2 separate regions of the Homo sapiens genome follow, and region 2 is linked to region 1. The links are contacts of gene promoters, found by promoter capture Hi-C in blood cells and fetal thymus (Javierre and others, 2016). All regions are on one chromosome and are shown on one strand. The core of a region is centred on a gene start or on the middle of the fragment in contact, and the rest is flanking DNA. Distances in the headings are between cores, read along the strand shown.

Region 1 (5,651 bases), core at 1-2,500:
GTTTCAATGCCATGCTTCTTCACAGGCTGGCTTCCCTTCCTGGAATGTTAATCATTGCAGGAATCCCAGCTGATTATACAGTCGCCTTTCAGGCCAGAACCCAATAAAAAATCAAGAAAGGATCGCCCGTTCTATTACTGCGCTGCTCCCTCCCCTCGTAGATTTCACAAATATACTTCTCACCACAAGCTTGTCTGTTCCAAGAGAATGCTAGCTCTTCTAAAGAAGGAGCCCTTTGTTTTCCTTGCCCTTGTCCAGTTCCTCTGCATACCTCTAGCACCTAGAGCAACAACTGCTATACAGGAGCCCAGATGTGGAACAGAGCAAAGAACTGAGTGTTGATTTAATGTTGCCTGAAGTCCTTAACAGCACCTTCAACCTAAACTTAACTGTGTTTTTAATCCCCTACACGTGTAATCCCTGTATGTGTGCGCAGCGTTAAAAGGATTATTGTAGCTCAAAAATTCTCCAATGAAAGAACCTCTACCAGAAAGGAGTTGCTCATCTTTCGTTCTTGAAAAGTTGGCTGCACGATACAAGTAAGAAAAGTTTTAGTTAGGCAAGACAACTTATACATAAAAGACAATTATAGGGAACATTACCTAACTTAGCACAGGGCCTCGAATGTATTCCGAAATTAAATCAGCATGTAGAAAGCAAGCCTCCTCATGCTTTTTAAAGTGTAATCTCGCGACCTCGCGGCGCGCTCTGGGAAGACCGATTCATCTCTTCCCCTCGCCCTCTTTCCCCGGCCGGCGCACAGCCGGCCCGTGGCGCTCGGCACCGCGTCTCCACGTCCAGCGCGGGGCAGGCCTGCGCGGCGCTTGCAAGGGACAAGCCGCGGAGCCGGGGAGGCTCGCCGTCTGGGACACGTTTGGAGAAGCGAGCGGTACAGTCCATTCCACGGCGACATTTTAGGATTCTCCCACTGACAACACTAAACTGAAGCGCTAAGACCAACCCTTACGACCACTTACCGTCGCAGGCCACGGTGGTGACTTCCTTTTCCGCTCCCCTACACACGCTTTTCCGTTTTGCGTGCCTTTGTTTCCGCTCCCCCCGGGACCATCGTGCGCCCCTGTCCTCCGTTCTTGTAGGTCCTCTCCTCTTCTCCGCGTCTTCTCTTTTACTATCCCACGCTCTCCTTTCCTTTCTCCGGGAACTTTATCCCGTTCCCCTGCCGGTTCCCGTGACCCCGGAAATCCCGCTCCTGCCGCGAGGCGCCCTCCGCTTCGCGCTCCCTCGTGTCACGAGGGAGCCAGGGTGGGCGGTCTCCTATTGTACTTGGCTTTTGAATTTTCGCTTTTGCAGCACAAAGGTAGGGCTGGGAAAGGAGGCTGCCGAACCGTGCTTGTTTTCGCTCAGATAAACGTGAGAAAAAGTGGAGGTGAGGAAGCCAGTGTAGGCAAATAGCGAGAGGGGAGAAGACAGAAAGGTACCGAAGGTCGACCTTTTTTAGGTATCTTATCCAAGTTATTGAGGGGAATGGGTATTTAGCCAGTTTTTTGTTTGTTTGTTTTTATCCGAATATCCAGTGTGTGTCTTGAATGTGTGAATGTGACGTGTTTATAAAGCTCAGTAAGCTTAAAATTCCGTGCCAATACATTTTGTATGCCGCAGACAGGAAGTGCTTTGGAAGACCCTTGAAAGGGGAGGTGATTTTACACCAATATTGAGATCATTTTGTCAGAGTCGTGGGACTAAAGGTAGACCTTAGGTAGTCGATGTCAAAGATAAGCGCAGCTGGACGTTAAAGCGGTGAAAACATTCAGTTAACTACTGACAGGAAAGAGCTGAGCTCTATTTCGATTCGTGCAGAGATCATCTGGGCATTTTTAAAGGGACGTTTTAAAAGGAGAAAGGGGATATGCGGGCGCTCAGTAGAGAAAGTGAACCTACAGAGTTGTTAGTGTAAATGTGATTAGGCCAGCTGTGTGTTTGTGTGTGCGCGCGTTTTAACAGTTACCGCAGGATTCTATCCTCCTACGGAGGATTTTATCCTTCTCGATTACATTTCAAAGGAATGACTCTCTGGTCCTTGAGAGAGAACTTCTGAGTGGCAAGAAATAAGTCTTTACAATTGCAAGCCCTTTAGTAAACGTTCTAAGAAAGGGATGTCAGAGACCTATCATCAGTTGTGTGCTGGTTACATCACGTAGTTAAGCTTTCTGAGGCAGTCGCCCTGGGCACAGGGCCTTATGCTGCTAAAGCTTGCTAGAGTTTGGTCAAGTCTCTGAACGCAGGGGTTTAGATGGGATGGTCATGTTCCTGGAGTTCTGCAGTGGTCATAGGTATGATTTGAATAAGTACAGGGAATATTCTAGTCGGAGGAACAGAATGTGCCAACGCGCCGAACAGGGAGGATAGTTTTACGATACGGAGATGTGTATGATAGGGAATAAGTGGGAGCCCAGTTTGGACTAATTGGAAGAAGTCATTATTAGAAGTACTGTATTTAATTCTAGTTTGTTATAAAATGAGACTCCAAGATCACTGAGCCATTTCACTGAGACTCCAAGATCACCCCAATGCTAGGCTAATCTCCATGGCGCCTAGATCTATGCCCACTCCATTCCCCATGTTGGTCCCCATAGTTTCAGGCACCAGGCTCCAACACCAGGTTGGGCCCTACAGCCCCAGTCTCCAGGTTGGCACCAGTGGATATAGGCTTTAGGTCCACTGACTGCTGGTCCCTACAGCCCCAGGTTCCAGTGAACCCAGGTTCCAGGCCTGCTCCAACAAACCCAAGGTCCAGGTCTACCCCAGTAGACCCTGGCACCAGAACTACCCCAGAGGGCCTAGCCTACAGGCTACCACCCACAAACCCAGCCTCCATGATGGCCTCTGAAGAATCAGGCTTTAGGTCTTCCCCAGCACCAGACTAGACTGCTAGACTGATGTTCCACTTTTGTCCCCATGGACCCAGGCACCAGGCCCATCTGAGAGGTTTCTTCAGTTTTATTTTTCAGTAATAACTTTCATTCTTCTTTCTCAGTGATAACTGTAGTACTCAGTGGGCTTTCTATTTCTGGCTCCCATTTTCCATCTTTCTTTTTAACACTTTGGGAAAATATCCAAGTTAAACTCTATATAGTGGGGTAGGTGGACAATGAAAGATAAGTAAATACATAATATGTATAATCAACGGAGTGAAAAGACAGCCTGCAGAATGGGAGAAAATATTTGCAAACTATATATCTGACAAAGGGTTAATATCCAGAGTATATGAAGAAGTCAACTCAATAGCCAAAAAAAAAAAAAAAAAAATCCAATTTAAAAATGAGCAAAAGGCCTGAATGGACATTTCTCAAAAGAAAACATGATGATGACTAACAAATATATGAAAAAATGCTCAGCCAGGCACAGTGACTCACACCTGTAATCCCACACCTTGGGAGGCCAAGCAGGTGGATTGCTTGAGCCCAGAAGTTCAAGACCAGCCATGGGCAACATGGCAGAACCCTGTCTCTACAAAAAATCACAATTGGCTGGGCAATGTGGCATACACCTATAGTCCTAGCTACTCAGGAGCCTGAGGTGGGAGGATCACTGGAGCCCAGGAGCTTGAGGCTGCAGTGAGCCATGATCACACCACTGCATTCCAGCCAGGGTGACAGAGCAAGACTCTCAAAAACAAATACATACATTTTTAAAAAATTAAAAATAAATAAAAATAATCATAGGGGAAATGCAAATCAAAACCACAATGAGATATCACCTCATACCTGTTAGAATGGCTATTATCAAAAAGACAAAAAATAACATGCCCATGCATATGTGGAGAGAAATACTTATACACTGTTGGTAAGAATGTAAATTACTGGCCAGATGCAGTGGCTCACGCCTGTAATCCCAGCACTTTGGGAGGCTGAGGTGGGCGGATCCCGAGGTCAGGAGGTCAAGACCATCCTGGCCCACATGCTGAAACCCCTTATCTACTAAAAATACAAAAAAATTAGCCAGGCATGGCAGCACATGCCTGTAGTCCCAGCTAAACCTGGGAGGCAGAGGCTGCAGTGAGCCGAGATCACACCACTGCACTCCAGCCTGGGTGACACAGCGAGACTCCGTCTCAAAAAAATAATAAATAAACAAAAGAATTTGAATTACTCTAGCCATTATAGAAAACAGTATAGAGGTTCCTCAAAAAATTAAAAACAAAACTGCCATATGATCCCACAATCCCACGCCTGGGTATATATCTGAAGGAAGTAAAATCAGTATGTTGCAGAGATATCTGCACTCTCATGTTTATTGCAGCACTGTTCATAAGAGCCGAGATATGGAATCAACCTAAGTGTCCATCAGTGGATGAGCGGATAAAGAAAATGTGGTATATACATACAATGGAATACTATTCAGCCATTAAAAGGAATGAAATCCTGTCATTTGTGGCAACATAGATGGACCTGGAGAACATTAAGTGAAATAAGCCAGGCACAGAAAGACAAATATCACATGATCTCATGCAGGTGTAGAATCCAAAGAAGTTGATCTCATAGAAGTGGGAAATAAAATGGTGGTTATCAGAGGCTGAGAAGAGATTAATCAGTGGGTACAAAGTTACAGTTAGGAGGAATAAATTCTGGCGGTCTATTGCACAGTAGGATGACTGTGGTTAACAACATTGTTTCAAAATGGCTAGAAAAGATTTTGGTTGTTCTCACTACAAAGAAATGGTAAATACATGAGGTGATGGTTTTGCTAAATAACATTAAAATATCACCATATCCCATAAATAAGTAAAATTGTTATGTGTCAAAAATGAAACAAAAATATATAATGTTGGGGGGTATTAAGTGCTATGATGACAAGTAAAGCAAGTTTGGCATAATTTTGGGAGTTGGCATATTAGGTTAAGGTAAAGCCAGTTACTTTTGTTATGTTTATGAATTCCTAGGCCTCTTGACAAACACTGAGGTTCTCAAACATTGGCAAACACAAGTCACATTAGGTAAACATACAAATTCTTGGCCTTAGTTCCATATATTTTATTCTGAACAAATAGCCCTTAAGTCAAAATTGAGAAACAATGATTAGTAATAAGTTTTTACACTTCAAGTATTTCCTCATTCTGAACAAAGGATGTCGACATGTATTTACACACTTGAATGTTTCAACACTACCGTGTGATGTGATTTTACTTTTTTTTTTTTATATATTTCAGCTTTGAGTATCATGTATTCTATTTTCAATCTGTTGTTTGTGGCCTAGACTCAATGCAATAAGTTTTTAAGGGGTTTTCTCTCTGAAGCACAAAATACCTTTTTACTCTAAAAAGCGGGGATGGGAAGAAGATAAACCAGACTCAGATATTATGATTTTCTTCACTTGTCCCTGGTATGAGTTTTATGAAAACATTTGTAACCCAATCACAGCTATCTTTCCCCTGAAACAACACGTGCTTTAGACTGAATTGGTTATAGTTCTAGGTATGAGAAAGAAATATCAAAATGTTATACCACAATGTATATCATTTATTGTTGCATTATATTCTATCATGATAATTTTTATTAATGTAAGCTTATTGAGTTCAAATGCCTTGTTAGCCTTATTTTTCCTCCTTCCCATCCTTTCTTTTTTTCCTCCTCGGTTCTTTCCTCTCTTTATTTCTTTTGAGAATGTAGTTAAATTTTTTTCTTAAAAAATGC
Region 2 (5,651 bases), core at 2,216-4,715, 4.3 Mb after region 1:
TATATACACACACACAGACAATTGCTACTTGTCAATTAAAATAAAATATAGAGATATTATTTAATGGATTTATTGGGTTTCAACTGTAGCAAAGAATACATTTATATGTAAAAAATATCTAAAAATAAAGATTAATAAACAATGGAATGGATTGTTCATGGTTAGTAAATAACCTTGCACATGCTTTAAATATTGGCACACTTAAACAGGAGTGCAACAGACCAACGTAACAATTCTTGCGATACTAGTTACAAAGTACAAAGATCTTTTAAGTGGTCCATATGCTAAGGTCTTGTAATGTTTAAGCTATTTTAATTTCTATTTCATTGTTTTCATAATTTAAAACCATGAATTAAAATTTAAAATGTCCTTTTGAAATATAAGGGAACTAGCATCTTTTAAAATAGAAGTGATTTTTTTTTGGTAGAAGAAATAGAGCATCTCACAAAATACCGTAAGTATTAAAAGCACAGACCTAAACAAAGCTAGACTTTTTTGAGGTTATGATCACGAATTTCAGACATGTCTAAATTACCTCTCTTGCTGCCAGAAGCTGCTGTACAACAGCAGAGCTCACTGTATTAGGAATTGTCAAAATCTTCTCCAAAATCACTTTTAAGAGATCTCGAACACCCTGATATAAGAAAAAAGACATGGGTTAAAATTAAGTAGTGTCTACTGTGTTAGCTAAAACGTCCGAAGGTTTCAGGGTGATATATTCCTTCAAGGTCACACCTTTAAATTTTCTGAATCAGTTACAATCTAAGTCCCTAACATTAACCCAACAGAAGAGTCATGTTCCAAAACAGAGTTCTAAAGACTGTCTTAAAATACAATGAGCAAAGAAAGTCATTATACAGTTTGTCAAGCTTTTTTGGCCCTCATAACATTAGAAGGGTTTACGTTGTTACAAGGGTCAAAAACCTTAATTATACATATAGACAGAAATATATTGTAACAAGACTTCAATGCACTCTGAAAACTTGAGTAACAATATCAAACTTTTTGGTAGAGGACTGTTTCTGCTCACTCCCTTTTGTGCTGGGATTATAGGTGTAAGCCACTGTGACTGGCCTATTCTCCCTTCTCATCCATCACATACCTTAATCTCTCAAGGATATCCAAGGCTATTCTGTTAATCATTTCCACATATCCAATACCAGTTACATTATCTGATATATAAAGAAGAAATTTCATTCAACATTTATTTATTGACTATGAACTACGTAACCAAGCTTGTAAAAGACAGAACATATACCTAAAAGAACAATTATGAAGTATCATACAAATAAGAAAATTGCATAAGTCTGAGTAAAGAGAAAATAATTAGCAAAAGCTTCTTAGAGTTAACTGTGTGATAAATCATGATTTAAACTAATAATTATCTGTTAGGTCATTACCTGTTAAATCATTTCAGATTAGAGAAAATGCAGAAATAAAGCACAGGGTCAGACACTGGTAATTCCCGGGAAAAGGACAATAACAAAAGTCTCCTGAAGATGCAGAATGGCTTTTGTAGCTATGGAGTCCCTAAGCCGTTTTATGAGACAAAACTAGAAAGTGTATGTTGTTTTTGGTCAAGAGCCCAAAGTGCTGAAGATATTAATTGAGGTAAGACCCACGTTCAAGAGAAGTGAAGCCAGGTCTTGCTCCCTTCATCAGTGATGCCTACATCCCTTCTCAGTTCCACACACCCCTGCTCTGTGCTTTCATTTGAAGGGATCATAATACTTGCAGCATGAAGGAACACGGATTCTGCTTTGTGACTTCCCTGCTCTTCATAAAAATGTATCAGCTACCTGTATTTATAAGAATGTTGGGAGGGGAGTAGCGGAGCCAGGGAAACAACTGAGTAACTTTAAATCTTTTCAGGAAATATACCACAAGAAATAGACAGATTTTGTAAATGCTTCCACATCATTTCTCTCACCTGAAAATAAGACATGCACACCGAAAAATCAATCATATCTGAAAGCAATCACTTTTTATAATAAGAAAAATATACCTTGTAATCCACTCCCCCAATTATTTTCCGAACCAGTTTAAATGTTAAGGCCCAAAGCTGTGTTCTTTCCCACTCAAGAGTGTCAGAGTTTATCAGGGATTCACAAACCAGCCTATAAAAAAAGAAATAGCCATTCCAGTTACAAGACAGAATTTTCCAAGTTCTCTAATAGCCGCCAATATGGTTTGGCTGTGTACTCACACAAATCTCATCTTGAATTGTAGTTCCCATAATCCCCACGTGTCATGAGAAAAACCATTTAAATCATGAGGGACAGTTCCCCCAATACTGTTCTCATGATAGTGAGTTAGTTCTCACAAGATCTAATGGTTTTATATGGGGATTCCCCCTTCACTGGGCACTCATTCTCTCTCCCACCACCCTGTGATGAGGTGCCTTTTGCCATTATTCTAAGTTTCCTGAGGCCTCCCTAGCCATGCCAAACTGTGAGTCAATTAAACCTCTTTCCTTTATAAGTTACCCAGTCTCGGGTATATCTTTGTTAGCAGCATCAGACAGACTAATACAGCCATAGTCTGTGCACTGTATTATATTTATCCTCACAAGTGTCTTTCATAAAAGTGATTACTAAGCACACTTATAAATCTGTGTAGTATTTTACATTTTTTACTTGTATGAAAGATCAAAAACAAAGTAAGAATGAAATAATATTCATTATGTTATATTTTACTAGAAAGAAGTCTATCTAAAGCTTTCGGTTAGATGTTTACCATCTATCACCTTGTGGTACACTGGATTTTTCCAACAGGATGGCAACAAGATTTTTGATCCCACATCTTCTTCTGAAATGTGACACTGACATTTCTCCCAAGGAGAGGTAGGGGGAAAGTCTACGTTCTCACTCCTTAGATCTGGGCAGACCTAAGACTATGGCCAAAAGGATGCAGTATGACTTCCAAGAAGACAAGGTGATACAATTTCTGCCTAGCCCTCTTTTGCACACTTGCTGTTAGGCTCCACCATGAGGTGAGAAAGTCTAGGCCACAAGGTGAGGGCCTGCGGAGGTTCTGGCTAATAATCCCAGCTGAGGTTCCAGATGACAGCCAGGAATCAACCACCAGATATCTGAGTGGGGAAGCTTTTGCCATGCTCCAGCCCTAGCCACATTGATCACAATCATTATGACCTTGAGTAAAAAGTGTCTCCTAAGCCGAGTCAACCACTAAAACCATGAATAATTTTAAAACCTGAGTATTACTGTTTTAAGCCATAAGGTGTTGAGGTTGTGCAGCAAAAGTAAAGGGTTACAAACTAATTAAAGTGATTAATTTCAGCCCCTGGGCAGAAACATCTGGTTTTGAGCCCACAAGCATTACCTAATTCAAAGACTATTACTCCTAGAAACTAAAACCTGAGGTATTATATAAAGGATTACTTGATAAACCTCACCTTCTTCTTCATTCTCTTACCTTTTTACAACAACAACCTCAACCAATTTCCAATCACATATAGAAAAGAAAATTCTTCAGATTGCTCATACCCATTAAACGTACCTGGGTGGAAGGAGACCAGTCTCAACTGCCATTGCTAAGCAGTCATAAAGAAAAGAAATTCTTTTAGGACTATGCTGACCATGAATAAACTTAACAATCCACTGGATACACTGTTCATGAGACTCCTGGAAAATGAGAGAATGATTTTACTTGGGGTCTAAAGTTACATTTTTATAACCAATAGCTAATACTACAACTGGAAGTATACCAATACTATGAAAGAAATACTTCACTATGAGCATCTGTGGATGAAAATAATTTTTAAAAAAAGCAAAATTAAAAAATTCAGATTTAGTATTTGTCACATTAAGCTTAACATTTTGTAATTACATAGATAAAATGCTACCATTTTTATTACATGGGAACTTCAAAAGTAGTAATTAATTAGTTAACATATTAACGGTCAATAGAAAACTCTTAACACAGATTGTTGTAAGGCATTGTAAACAGTGCCCTTTATGGCATATATAAATATTACTGTCACTGGGGGTAAAATTCATTATGGATCAGTATGTATCAGGCTTAGGAGAATTAGGTGTGAATCCAATCCCTAAGATCCCAAACAAGAGCCCATTATGAATCCAATGACATGTCACATTTCTAGACTGGCAAAACTTTAAATACGATGTCAAAATGTTGTGCCCGTATCAAAGTTTGTCTTCTAGGATTATCTCCAAAAAGAGCCTATAATGTTCTGCTTCTCTCCACAACCACTGTTCTCATACATACTTCTATTGTGGCACATATAACAATGATTTGGAAATACCTATTTTCTTCCTGGTCTCTCCATTAGAGGGCCACATCATAATTCATAAAGTGTTTAATGAATTTTTTTTTAAATTTTGGAAAGATATTCAACATCACTGAGAGAAATGCAAAATAAAATTATACTGAGATAAAATTTCTCATGTTTTTGATTGGCAAAGATCAAAAAGCTTAACACTCTATTGTGAGGTTATAAGAAAAAGATACTCTCAGCCGGGCGCGGTGGCTCATGCCTGTAATCCCAGCACTTTGGGAGGCCGAGGTGGGCAGATCATGAGGTCGGGAGATCGAGACCAACCTGGCTAACACGATGAAACCCCGTCTCTACTAAAAATACAAAAAATGAGCCGGGCGTGATAGCAGGTGCCTGTAGTCCCAGCTACTCGGGAGGCTGAGGCAGGAGAACGGCGTGAACCCGAGAGGCAGAGGTTGCAGTGAGCCAAGATCACGCCACTGCACTCTAGCCTGGGCGACAGAGTGAGACTCTGTCTCCAAAAAAAAAAAAAAAAAAGAAAAGAAAAAGATAATCTCAAACACTGCTGGTGGAAGCATAAACTAGTATAACCCTTATGGAAAATTTAATAATTTCTATAAAAATTACAAACTGATAAGGCTTTTGACTCAGCAATACTATTTCTAGGAATTTATCCTATTTTTCATGCATAATATTATTCATCACAGCATTGGTTAAATTAGAAAAAGTAAGAAGAAACTTAGAAGACAGTAGAAGATTGGTTAAAAGGAGGAAGGTACAGCCATACAATGGAATATTATGCTGCTATTTAAAAAAAAAAGTAAGAAAGGAAGGAACAAGTAACGCTTGGACTGATAGGGAATTACCTGTAGATTATTATTAGGAGAAAAAAAGTGCTAATTAATGAACAGTGTACATGGTATATGATCATGCTATAAAAGTGTTTCTATATGCATAAAATACTTCTAGAAGAAAACATAACCTGAGGATATTGGCTACAGACAGAAAAAATAACAGGTAAGAGAAGAGAAAGAGACTAGTTATTGGATCCACCCTTTTATACCTGTGCATTTTGAACCATATAAATGTATTACCTATTAGAAAACAACTAAACAAAAAGGTTAAAACATGACTGTATTGGCATTATATGATCCATGTCTGAGTGGCAAATCTTATCACCAGTGGCTGACACGCAAACAGTTCTCATTTCCCTACCTATAGTGTACCATGAGAAGGTAAGGCACTACTGCAATGTGAGCTCTTCGAGGATGACACATTTTTGTCTTTTTCACGGATACATTTTCTGGTAGCTGTTCTTTGTTACTTTTACAGTTTGTCTCCTCATTTTTACTATAATATTTTCCTATCCTTATTATAGAATCTTGGTATTCCT

What was found. The method cuts DNA at HindIII sites, captures the fragments that hold promoters and counts their contacts. A CHiCAGO score of 5 or more calls a contact.
Region 2: a contact is called between a fragment that was not itself captured here and the fragment with the promoter of ECHDC1 in region 1, in 2 of 17 cell types (naive CD8 T cells and total CD4 T cells). The highest score is 7.3, in naive CD8 T cells.

What each region holds. Positions count from the first base shown.
Region 1 is chr6:127,342,359-127,348,009 of GRCh38, forward strand. It overlaps ECHDC1 (ethylmalonyl-CoA decarboxylase 1), which reads right to left and starts at 1,251. Exons shown (of 6, transcript NM_001002030.2): 1 at 978-1,251. RefSeq lists enhancers at 536-1,409, 2,284-3,157. The HindIII fragment of the contact is 1,394 bases long and covers 188-1,581 here.
Region 2 is chr6:131,621,346-131,626,996 of GRCh38, forward strand. MED23 (mediator complex subunit 23) reads right to left here. Exons shown (of 29, transcript NM_004830.4): 4 at 3,520-3,644; 5 at 2,006-2,117; 6 at 536-634. Among named protein-coding and RNA genes, the nearest start is that of MED23, 4.1 kb to the right of the region's middle. The HindIII fragment of the contact is 726 bases long and covers 3,103-3,828 here.